Regions from separate parts of the Homo sapiens genome. Here all the other regions are linked to region 1. Evidence: promoter capture Hi-C in 16 types of primary human blood cells and fetal thymus (Javierre and others, 2016). All regions are on one chromosome and are shown on one strand. The core of a region is centred on a gene start or on the middle of the fragment in contact, and the rest is flanking DNA. Distances in the headings are between cores, read along the strand shown. Region 1 holds the start of SETD5 (SET domain containing 5). Region 2 overlaps DCP1A (decapping mRNA 1A). Region 3 holds the start of CCDC66 (coiled-coil domain containing 66).

Region 1 (4,123 bases), core at 145-2,644:
CAGGGACCAAGTTAGCCCCTTAAGCCTAGGCAAAAGAATCCCGCCCATAATCGAGAAGCGACTCGACATGGAGGCGATGACGAGATCACGCGAGGAGGAAAGGAGGGAGGGCTTCTTCCAGGCCCAGGGCGGTCCTTACAAGACGGGAGGCAGCAGAGAACTCCCATAAAGGTATTGCGGCACTCCCCTCCCCCTGCCCAGAAGGGTGCGGCCTTCTCTCCACCTCCTCCACCGCAGCTCCCTCAGGATTGCAGCTCGCGCCGGTTTTTGGAGAACAAGCGCCTCCCACCCACAAACCAGCCGGACCGACCCCCGCTCCTCCCCCACCCCCACGAGTGCCTGTAGCAGGTCGGGCTTGTCTCGCCCTTCAGGCGGTGGGAACCCGGGGCGGAGCCGCGGCCGCCGCCATCCAGAAGTCTCGGCCGGCAGCCCGCCCCCGCCTCCAGCGCGCGCTTCCTGCCACGTTGCGCAGGGGCGCGGGGCCAGACACTGCGGCGCTCGGCCTCGGGGAGGACCGTACCAACGCCCGCCTCCCCGCCACCCCCGCGCCCCGCGCAGTGGTTTCGCTCATGTGAGACTCGAGCCAGTAGCAAGGGCCCGGTCCCACAGCTTCGACAGCCAATCAGGTGTCGAAGACAAGCAGGCGGCGGGTAAACCGACTCCCCCGAAGGAAGGGGAGGGTGGGAGGACGCCCGCGCCAGAGCCGATTTCACTGACCCTCCCCTCCCGCCGCAGGAGGCCGGCCGCGCCCGCACACCCAGCATCTCTACACCCCACCTACCTACCCGCCCCACCCAGGGGGCAACGCGAGAGTCGCTAAGCGGCTGCGTACTCCCGACGGCGTAACTGACAGGAGCTTTACTCCAACCAGAATACGCCATTTGTGTTTTCACACACGGCGGGAGGAGAAACGGCCAATCGGCGACAAGAGGCTAGCCGGAAGCGCTCCTCCCTCTGCGAGAGCAATGGCTCCGTCCGGTTTCGAGCATTTTCCGCTCCCTTCTCCCTCCCCCTCCGGTTGCCGCAGGGCGGGCCTCCCTCCCGCCTGCATCCAGCCACCCCTTTCCCTCCCAACGTAACAAACATTATGTTCCCGACTTCCCACGGGAAAGGCAACCCCCGCAAGCCACCAGACGGCCCCCCTAGCCACCCATCCCCCCAGTGTACCGCACCTCCCCTCCCACCAGAGTTCCGCTCCCCTACCTAGCCGAGGCTCTCTGAGGAGCCGGAGCGCCGAAGCACAGCCTCTTCTCTAGGCGGCCCCGGCGGCTTCCGCTGATTGGCGGCGAGTGGGCCAATGGGTGCGGGGCGGTGGGCGGAGAGGCCAATGGCGCGGCGGGAGGGGGCGTGTCCCGGGTGCCCCTGGCGCCGGCGCTGGGAATCCCCGTGCGGTCAGTGGCGTTTCCGCTCGGGCAGCGGGCTGAGTGAGCTGCCGCCGCCGCCGCCGCCGCCGCCGCCGCCGCCGCTGCCGGGGGAGGGGCGGCCGCCGCCCGCCTGCGCTCAGAGACTCACGCAGCCCCAGTCCCGCCAGTCCGCCAACACAGTAGTGCCGGCCCCCCTCTTTCCCTGGCCCTGCCCCCCCTCCCCGCCTTTGGCTCGCTCCGCCTTTCTGCCCCCCACCCCCACCTCACGGGTACGGGCCATTCCCGGCCAGGAAACGCCGTGGCGCCGCGTTGGGCCTAACTCGAGTCCTGCCGCCTCCCGGGAGTGCCGTGCGCCGCAGCCCGGGCCCAGGCCCCGGCAGCGCCTGGGACAAGGTAAGGGTCCGACAGAAAAGAGACCGAACCTCACGATCGGGCCCCAGGGGAGGGAAGGGTCACCTCCTCCGTCTCCCCGCGCTCGCTCTCCTTGGGTCGTGGGCCTGGCCCTCCCCAAGCTCTTAGGAGGATGCTGCCACTTCTCACCCCCCTCGCCGCCTTGCACACACCGTTGCAACACCCCATTTTCCCAGGGAGAGAGATCCCCCTCTAATCTAGGCGACCCAACTCCCCCTTTCATGTTTTTCCTGGGTCAGGACGCTTCCCCTCCCCCAACGCCTCTTCACCCCCTTTCCTGGGAACTGCCTACTCCACGTTTACCTTTCCCTTGAGGAGAGGCCTCTTGCTGCCCTCCGCTCGAAATACACAGGCATACTTTTTTTCTCTCCCCGATCCCCCACTCCCTACCCCCGTTCTCGCGGCCTTGTGACAGACAACTCTGATCGCTCTGGGGGCCGCGATCTCCCCTCCGTAATCTTCCTGGACGCCTTCCCTCTCGTTTTCTGGCTTCCCACCTCAGATGGCTGCTTCCCAAAGGCATTACCTTCGCCACCCCCACCACACGTTCTCTGGCTCCCCGTGGCGTGTGCCACAGCGTGTCTGAGATAGCCTCGTTGAATGTGTAGGGTTCGAGCCTGGAGTTGAGCCAGATTGTGTCGTTTTACTTGCCTTGGGCGTGGAGAACGATCTTGTGAGAATATCTTCAAAGGCAGAAAAATATTCCCTTTATGAATTCTCTTTCCCTCTGCGTGTAAGTCGGGAATGTGAAGAGGAGTGTAGGAAAGAGCCCTGGTTCAAGTAGGTAAATCGCATGAGAGGGAAAGTTAAACTGTTGGGAAAGCCCCTTCTATGCTAATTGATTCTATAGAGTCCTTGCTTGTCTCACTTCTTGGGCGTCAGTGGTCTTTCTCTTGGATATGGATGCTGCAGTCAGCTCTGCTGGTCTGGGTCAGGGGTGCGTGTATGACCTGCATTTTCTGCTTTCTCATGTTACTTGTGCAATGTATTCACCGGTAACTCATTTCTTTCCCAGACCTCTGGGTTCCACTGGGCTTTGTCTATATTTAAGTTCATTTCTCCAGTTTCCTTCCTGCACATAGGTACTGAACGAATCCCCAAGTTCTGTGCTAATTACCTTCATCAGTTGACTAAACAAGTTTTTAGATGACATATTTGTGACCAAGGTCATATTTACATTTCTTTGTTGGACAGATGTTACATAGCTATACTTGTGATTGGGGAGGATCCAGCTGAGTGGAGTGTGCTGAGCTTTTTAGGAGAGTGTGTACTCCCTATTTGAAATTATTTTTTGGTTGTTAATTTTATATTATTAATGTTTTTAGGTCACAGAAAGTTCTAAGTGGTAATTTTAGATGTGTGGGATCTGAGCTAGGACTAAAGCAGAGAATACCCACGTAATCAGAGGTTTCTGGGCTCCATAGAGGACGTAGGGCTTTTTTTTTTCTATTGGATTTCTTCCAGTTTTCTCAGGATCATTAGTTCTCTTCTGTAGCCAAAAATTCTGGCCTGTTATGGGATTAGAGTCTTTAAGGTTTACTCAGACTGTCATTATGTGTAGAAAAATGAATTATGCCCTTTGGTAGGACATGACACAAGGCTCTGTTTCTAGCTGCAAATTTAAATTAGATTGTAGAGTGCTTGGGAAATTGGCTTTCAAAAGACCAAAGCTTAATCTTCACTCCTAAACTGCTGGCTTAATTAAAATGGATATTTAGAATTTGGTAAATGTTGATTTTTCTAATAAAAGGCCTTGGTTTAAAAGGGTGACCTTAGGATTGTTTCTTTCTTAAAAGCATAATTCCAGCCCTTCTGGCATGGAGCACTGGTCCAAAAAAAAAAAAAAAAAGTGTGTGTAAGGAGTGGGGGTGGGGTAAAGAGAAGGTTGTTCCTTTGGGTTGGATCACAGGGGTGAGTATACAAGGCAGCAGCAGCTGCTGGCTCTGGAGCTCTGGTTGCTACGTGAGAAGCTTGAGTAGTGCTGGCTGCTGTCTCCAGGGAAGGACAGCAGTGCAGCGTCCATTAATGCTGCTGGCTGCAGGGAGCAGCACTTAGGCGATGGCTGCTTCAGGACTAAGAAGAAACCTTGCTTTTCTGGGAATTTTCACTGCTGAGCTGGTTTGCTTTTTATTGGTGGGGAGATGGGAATTAGTAATTCATAATCTCCTACCCATTTATGGATATTGGCATCTGGAAACTGGATCATGGTTAAAGCCTTTCTTTTTTTGTTTGTTTGATTTGATTTTTGTTTTTTGGCAGATTTTTGTTTTTTATCTAGACATTTGTGCTTGGATAGGACTAAAAGTTCCATTAGAGTTTTAATTTTTCAATCAGTTTAAAAACCCAAG
Region 2 (3,899 bases), core at 1,333-3,832, about 44 Mb after region 1:
CATAGAAACTAAGGTTCTAATAACAGAGTTTCTAGAGATTTATATTGCTAATGAAGAGTAATGAAGGGAGTGAGGGTAAAGATCCTTTCCTATTAATTTATTTATTTTTTATGAGAGGGAGTCTCGCTCTGTCACCCAGGCTGGAGTGCAGTGGCACGACCTCGGCTCACTGCAAGCTCCGCCTCCTGGGTTCACGATATTCTCCTGCCTCAGCCTCTCAAGTAGCTGGGACTACAGGTGCCTGCCACCATGCCCAGCTAATTTTTTGTATTTTTAGTAGAGACAGGGTTTCACCGTGTTAGCCAGGATGGTCTTGATCTCCTGACCTCGTGATCCGCCCACCTCGGCCTCCCAAAGTGCTGGGATTACAGGCGTGAGCCACTGCACCCGGCCGATCCCTTCCTTTTTAAAAGCAGAAAGATGAATAGCAGGGAACAAAGAAAGTGTCTAAGAAAAAAGAGCTTGGTGTACAAATATCAAAGAATTACACTTAAAAGAAGAAAAAAATGAGTGCATTTAGACGAGATCTCAAAGCTTTGTATCAAAATTTAGAAGAGTATTTGACAAATTCTTTTAAATTGGCATCAATGGAGAAAGGCAATCCTTATGAAGCAACTCAATACAAAAAAAAAAGGGAAAAGACCAGATATCAGTAATAACTCCTGCTGACTCCCTAAGCTTTAGAAAACAAGGGAAGGAACCTGCCCTTGTAAGAGTTAAGACCTTAGAGGAATCCAGGAAAACAAGTACCCCATGACTATCATATACTGTCAGTTGTCTTTAGGCCCCAAAAGCTGCCTAACAAAAAAGTTGCAATTTGCAAACCAATCTTAAAGATAATGAATTTTTGAATAAGTCAAAAATAAAAAATACGCCATCATGAATAATCCAAGCTTTCTAAAGAACTCTCAAATAAGACACTGTACATAATCCAGAACTTCTGTGGGTTGGGAAAGAGGACAGAACCAGTCATAAAAGACAACCACTCATGTAGTAATGAAAGAACAGAGGGATCGACCTCTCAATAACATTATTTTACAGAGCCAGTCTATGTATTGTCTTTTCCCCAAATATATATCTTTCTTTTTCTTTCTAATATGGGGGTAGGAAGAGAGACGCAGGCATCCATTTTAGACTCAATCATTATTATTTTGAAATTGCTTTGCTAGGCTGGTAATATAAATTCTAGTTCAGTTTATTCTGAATCACAGAAAGGCTCAGAGAAAAGAAAGAACCTGGTTAAGATTTCACAGCTAGGGAAAGATGAAAACTTGAAGGGTACTAGCAGGACGGTTCCAAAGACAAATGTACAAGAGAATTGAACCGTTTCACATTGTTCACCACTAGACTGTTAAAAACAAATATACATATTTTAAAAACTTACCTTCGATATACGAATAAGGTCCCTTCTATATCAGTCTTCTCCTATGAAAGACAATGACTCAATTAGTTTTTTTTCCCCATAATCAGACCCCAAATAGTCCCCATGGAGAAGTAATGCTTCACGTTTAAGATCAACTTGTTTCATTTCATCTATTATAAAATTAACCACTTTTGAACAGGTAAAGTCTCCCTCTCATTCCACAAATTGTGGTTACCATTTCTAATGTATCCTTTCAGTGCATAAGCATATGCAATATTTAATCCAGCAACATATCTGTATCTGCAGTATTTTTCTTTTTTAATTAGTAAAGGAGAAAATCATAGAATAAACCTTCACTTTTTATAGCTAAAATATTTTAGCCAGATTTCTTAACTTTAAAGCTAAGGTCCTGTATACTGCAATTTCTTCTCTTTTAAGTTTATCCAAGTTAATTTTAAAAAAGGAAAGGAATGAAACTTTCTTATAGGATACTTTGTTTCATCACTAGGGAGTTTTCGTACATTTTGACAACTAGCAAATTTTGTGGTTAAGAATTACTACCAAACAAAATCAGCTTGTTATTTTTAGAACTTGAAGAATCTTGAATACTGAAAGTATACCCTGCCTCAGTGTAATTATTGGAGGCCTTTACCATAGTTCATTTTCTGTGACAAGAGTGTATTTAGGTTTTAAACACAGTTCAGTGTTTTTTAAAAAATAAATAAGCTTATTAGTCTGCAATTTACAGCCTACAATGGACCTAAATATTTTACTGTAATCAACGCATTATTAACATTTTAAATGTTAGTCATATATTGAATGTGTTGGGATTAAAAAATTTAGAAAATTGATCATCTCGATTTCTTCCAGAAGTACTACCCTAGCTTAAATATCATTATTTTCCTTCCTAAGGATTCAGAGGCTTTTTCTTACCTTTAAAATGTTAGGTTATTACTATAAGAAACTGGTAATCAACTGTCTTACAGTAAAAGAAAATTTGCCCACCAAAAAACATCATGCAAAGTTACAACTCACTGTAAAATAATAAAGAGGGAAAAGATTTTTGTCATGCTCTATGTGCCAGGATCCAAATAAACAGTAGCAGCTTATTTTTCAATTCAGGTTATTATAGCTTGTATTTCATATTTAAAACAGAACTCCACAATGTAAAATTTTAAAATATTGAAAGCCTTTGTGAAAAACTAGGAAAACTCTAGCCCCAAGTCTTCACCATTTGTCGGCAATCCATATTTCAAAATTTATATATAGGCCAAGAAAAGAAAAAAGATTCATAAAATTTCAAACTAAGGCAATGTCTAAAATAGCTACATTTAAAAAACAATCTACAATTTTATTCCTTGTGGCTTCCCATATCTCCTTCTCTTCCAGGAGGCAAAGATAAACAACGTGATTATAAAAACTCTTCATCTGAATTAACTGTTCATAAATGCCAAATGATTTTCGATAAATTACTGATAAATATAATCTATGCAACTGTATTATAGGGTAAACGACATACTACGGTCATCTTCCAGAGTTCTGTCAGTTTAAGGATTTCGTATCTTATTGAAATGTGAACTCCAGTCATTGGTGAATTCAATCCAACAAGCATTTACGTATTACTTTCTAAGTGTAAAGCCTGTAGCTGAATGAGTTAATTAGGAAGGGTCAATTACAAGAAAGTGGGAAATTATGCTTTTTAAACAACTAACAAAGCTTCAAGCAGGGGCTAACAAGAATCAGTGAACACACTGAATGTGACTTTTCGGACCCTCCCCAGTGCACGAAAGCCAGAAAGTACTGAGTCCGAGGGGAGCATTCAGAGATGACATCACCAGCATCATAGATGGAACAAAACACATTTACAGGGTCTCTCTTGTTTGTACAAAGGTCTTCGGGGATCCAGTGAACACGGAAGCCCTTTTCCTAAGTGCCTTGGAATCTTTTCCGAAACTCTGTGTAGTTCGATTAAAGCCGGACCCACCCACCCCCTCCTTCCAAGAATCGAAACTAATTGGATTTTAAACTTTAAACCCAAATGACCTCTGCGACAGGGGCTCTCATTTACGTTTGCCAGGGGGAGAGGAGGAGTGTTTATTTTATAGATAATGTACATATAATTTATCTAATAATCCGCAAAGCCTCAAACACAAGCTTTCAGGCACCCTTTTGACCCCACCGGTCTTATAACTCCCAATGTATCTGCAAAGAAGGCAGGTCGCCCACGTCCCCAGACCCGACGCCAAGGGACTGATCCTGCTCCAATCCTCCCCTCCACTGGCTTTTCCTTGGGATGTCTCGAGCCACTTCTCTCACTCCTATCCCCCAATCCCAAGCGGACCCGACACCCCTCAGGCTCTGGCTAGGCTCTTGGCCAGACCCTGGCCTCGTCTCCACCGCCCTGGCCTCTTAGTGTGCCCCCCCACCCCACAGTAACCCGCGCGGCCCCTTTAAGAGACGGCAGCGGCCGGGTGGCCGTCCTCAGGGCCAGGCGGCACTCACCCACTGGTTGGCCTTGGGGCAGAAGGTGTACAGA
Region 3 (4,171 bases), core at 1,001-3,500, about 47 Mb after region 1:
GATTTTCTACATAGACAATCATGTCATCTGCAAACAAAGTTTTCTTTCTTTCTTCCCAGTCTGTATACTTATTTCTTTTTCTTGTCTTAGCTAGGACTAAGGCTAAGTCTTAGGATTAGCTCAGACTTCCAGTGTGATGTTGAAAAGCAGTGATAAGAAGAGACATTCTTGCCTTGCTCTTGTTCCCAATCTCAGTGGAAAAGTTGCACTTTTTCACTGTTAAGTGTGATATTGGGCTCTACAGGATTTTTTTAAAAAATAGAGATAGAGTCTCACCATGTTGCCCAGGCTGGTCTCGAACTCCTACACTCAAGCAATCCTCCTGCCTTGGCCTTCCAAAGTGCTGCAATTACAGGCATAAGCCACCACACCCGGTCTCTAGGAGATTTTTTGTAGATATTGCTTATCAAGTTAAGGACGTTCTCCTATATTGAGAGATTTTAAGAAGCAGAGTGAATTAAGCAGATTCACATTTTAGAAATCATTCTGGCTACAGGCTCACGCCTATAATCCCAGCACTTTGGGAGTCTGAGGTGGGAGGACTACTTGAGGCCAGGAGTTTGAGACCAGCCTGGGCAACGTAAACAGACTCTGTCTCTACAAAAATTTTTTTAAAAATTAACCAGGCGTAGTGGTGCATGCCTGTAGCCCTAGCTACTTGGGAGGCTGAGACAGGAGGATCATTTAAGACCAGGAGTTCGAGGTTACAGTGTTATGTTCGTACCAATGTAGGCGGCCTGGGTGACAGAGCAAAACCCTGTCTCTAAAAAAAAAAAAAAAAGAAAGAAAAGAAAAAGAAAAAGCAAGTGTTGGGGTGAAGAAATTAGAACCTCATATACATTGCTGGCAGAAATGTAAGATGCTGCAACTGTTATGAAAACAGTTTGGCAGTTTCTCGAAAAGTTAACCATAGAATTACCATGTGACCCAGTAATTCCACTCTTAGGTGTATACCAAGAAAATTGAAAATAGGGATTCAAACAGATACTTGTACATCAGTGTTCACTACAGCATTATTCACAATAACTAAAAGATGGAAACAACCCAAATGTCTATTAATGGATGAATGAGTAAACGAATTGTGGTATATATATACATAGAATGGAATACTATTCAATCATAAACAGATATGAAGCTCTGATACATCCTACAACATGGATGCACCTTGAATACATTATGTTACTTGAGAGAAGACACAAAAGGACAAATATTGTATGATTCCACTTTTATGACATGAAGTATCTATAATAGGCAAATTCCTAGAGACAGAAATAAGATTAGAGGTTTCTTAGGATTGAGGGGAGAGGAAAATGGGAAGTTGTTGCTTAATGGGTACAGAATTTTTATTTGGGGGTACTAAAAAGCTTTTGGAAAAATATACTGGCGTATTCCACAACATTGTATCATGGAATTGTCACTTGAAAATGGCTAAAAATAGCAAATTTTAACACACATATTACAACAATAAAAAATAAAAAAGTAAAGGTTTGTCAGGCATTTAATAATTAATACCTTTCATTGTTTTTGTCTGGAAAGAGTGTGTGCAAAGATACTTAACAACCAAATGTAATGTGTGATCCTTGATCGGCTCTTGCATTTTTTTTTTTTTTTTTTGAGACGGAGTCTCACTCTGTCGCCCAAGCTGCTGGAATGCAGTGGCGCGATTGGCTCTTGCTTTCTAAATAAAATGCCTATAAGATATTCTTAGGACAAGTGGGGGAAATTAAATCGGGAAGAGAATTATTATGAAATTAATGATCTTAGGTATAATAATTGTACTGCGGTTATGTAGCAGAACATCTATTCTTAGGAGATACATGCTGCAATGTTAAAGGGTTAAGTGTTACAATGTCTGCAATGTTAAAGGGTTAAGTGTTACAATGTCTGTAACTTACTTGCAAATGGTGACCCCAAAAAGGTGTGTGTGTGTGTGTGTGTGTGTGTGTGTGTGTGTGTGTGTGTGTGTGTGTGTGTGTGTGTCTGTGTACGCGCTTTGGAAGGCTACAATTGCGAGAAGCGCAGGTCTCCGCCACCGAAGCTTTAGACTCATAAGCCGGGTCAGGCCAAATTCCGCTGTGCGTAGGGGAACAAACGGCACAAACGGGGCACAAAAGGGGAACAAACGGCATACGCAACCGTCCCCGCGGGAGCCCCGGCCCAGCTCAGCGCACCCGCCAGCATGCCCCACCCTGATTGGTCCACTTGCTCAGCTCGCCGGCACCCCTATATCCAATTGGCGTAGCGCTTGCTGAGCGGCGGCGGCAACCGACGTACACAAGGGGCTTGAGCGTTCTGTGGAGAGAGTGCGAGGTCAGGCCATGAACTTGGGGTAAGCAGGGGTAAGCTGGGGTAAGCTGGGGTAAGCAAGGTGGTCGTCAGCGGAGAGGGAGGCATGTGTGTCTGGGTTGTCCCTTGGAGTCTTTACTGGAGAACGTTCCCAACCTGCGCCGCCGAGAGGGGCAGAGCCCAGTTCTCGGGTAGAAGATCGAGGCAGATGGGTCGGCCCTTAGCGACTCCACAGACCTTACGTTTTCACTTAATGACTAGCATTAAAACTGCCAGTGATCCCCTTTCGGTCCCTTATTTACCTCAGGATGAGGAGGGAAGAGAGGTGAGGAGGAAAGGAGAGAAATGACGAGACAGTTAGAGGAAGCGTGGCGGCTCCTGGGGAGGACTCCTGGCCCATGCCCCGGGTTCTTCGCCACCTTGTTTTTGGAGTCTTGCAGAATGTTGAAACGCCCAAATTCGTTTTAGGCCCACGAGGCGGGGAACCAGGCTTCTCAAGAAATCGATGTAGTACCAGTGCCTAACACCTAGTAGGCGCTCCTTAAGTAGGGGTGAATAAATAAAAAGGGCTGGTGCATGGTCTTCATCACTCGCAAGTTTGATATTTTGAGAAGATGAGAAGCCACCAAACTCAGACCTAACTACACATCGTTCAGCAAATGTTATTATGTTTTAGAATCTGGGGATATGGAAATAAATAAGATAGTGTGTCCCTTAAGGAGATTACAGTGCAGTGCGTCATTGAAGGTACTTTACCATTGAAGCTCTTTTCTTTCTTGGTGACGTTTCACCAACATAAACACGAACTGTTCATAACCCTACAATAAGGAAAGCCGTAAAACCTATTCTTTCCAGTGTTTTACCTTTAATAGTTAAGGTGAGGTAATTTGATTTCCCCTACCTGAGCAACACCGCAAATTTCGCATTCCTAATCAGACCTTTCCCAGCCTCTCTCTCCCTTGACTGGCTTGCTGGATTTAATTTTCTCTCTCTGAATTATGGACTGTATGTATGGGCTGCCATTTTTGTTCTCAGTGGAGTTTTAGGACCTTAACAGACGTTCAAGTTTTGTTGGCAGTGGCTACTGTTACTTTATGCCTTTGCTTCTGATATGCACGTATAAAGCACCATACTAAATATCACTATGTATTATTTGAAATATTGAAAGTGGTACTCTTTGCTCAAGCAGTTACTAACCTTGATGGCATTGTTAGTAGTCATATCGATGCTCCAGCACTCCATAGAATGTTTTAGTCATGAGTTCATTATGAAACTAATGAATGGCGGTTAAATATATCTTGTTCCTTTAACTTATGTGAGGAGTTTTGGTAACAGCATTATTAAAAAATGGTGGTATGATAACTTAATTTATAGTTTACCAATAACAAAATGAGATTTCAGGTTAATGATAACAATGCTTGTAGTATTGAAGAGTTTCAAGAATTTTCCCCCTGTAGTTGTGGGTTTTATCTTGGATTGCAAACGTTTTTAATTAAAACACTGGTTCGATGTGTACAAGATTCCTGCATAAATTCAAAATAATGGATTTATTGTCAGGTTCAAATGAACATTTCTGGTTATTTAAAATGTTGCGGTTTGTTAAAAATGAGAGACAACTTTCTTTTTTTATTACAGAGATGGTTTAAAGCTTGAAACTGAATTACTGGATGGAAAAACCAAGCTAATATTGTCTCCATATGGTATGTTGTGTTACAGAAATCTGAAATGTTAACTTTTAAATTCATACATAAAATTTATATTAGTTCAACAGACTTTTTGCTTGTAATAGAGTGATATTTAAATGATATTTTAGAAAAAGCTGTTTCCTCAAACTTCTGCAGATTTCCTTCTAGCCAAATAAAATCAGATTACAACACTGCTTACT

What was found. Contacts are between HindIII fragments. The CHiCAGO score rates a contact against its expected background, and 5 or more counts as called.
Region 2: a fragment that was not itself captured here is called in contact with the fragment with the promoter of SETD5 in region 1 in 1 of 17 cell types (total B cells); the score reaches 6.4 in total B cells.
Region 3: the fragment with the promoter of CCDC66 here is called in contact with the fragment with the promoter of SETD5 in region 1 in 1 of 17 cell types (naive CD8 T cells); the score reaches 8.2 in naive CD8 T cells.

The regions. Positions count from the first base shown.
Region 1 is chr3:9,396,221-9,400,343 of GRCh38, forward strand. It overlaps SETD5 (SET domain containing 5), which reads left to right and starts at 1,395. Exons shown (of 23, transcript NM_001080517.3): 1 at 1,395-1,757. It overlaps THUMPD3-AS1 (THUMPD3 antisense RNA 1), which reads right to left and starts at 403. Exons shown (of 4, transcript NR_132781.1): 1 at 340-403. RefSeq lists a silencer at 293-1,602 and an enhancer at 2,213-2,262. The HindIII fragment of the contact is 6,018 bases long and covers 1-3,443 here.
Region 2 is chr3:53,343,518-53,347,416 of GRCh38, forward strand. It overlaps DCP1A (decapping mRNA 1A), which reads right to left. Exons shown (of 10, transcript NM_018403.7): 1 at 3,866-3,899; 2 at 1,385-1,425. Among named protein-coding and RNA genes, the nearest start is that of DCP1A, 2.1 kb to the right of the region's middle. RefSeq lists enhancers at 3,034-3,624, 3,625-3,899, 3,751-3,899. The HindIII fragment of the contact is 990 bases long and covers 2,088-3,077 here.
Region 3 is chr3:56,554,925-56,559,095 of GRCh38, forward strand. It overlaps CCDC66 (coiled-coil domain containing 66), which reads left to right and starts at 2,251. Exons shown (of 18, transcript NM_001141947.3): 1 at 2,251-2,329; 2 at 3,922-3,986. The coding sequence starts at 2,319. RefSeq lists enhancers at 1,694-2,366, 2,367-3,038, 2,507-2,666. The HindIII fragment of the contact is 1,896 bases long and covers 2,037-3,932 here.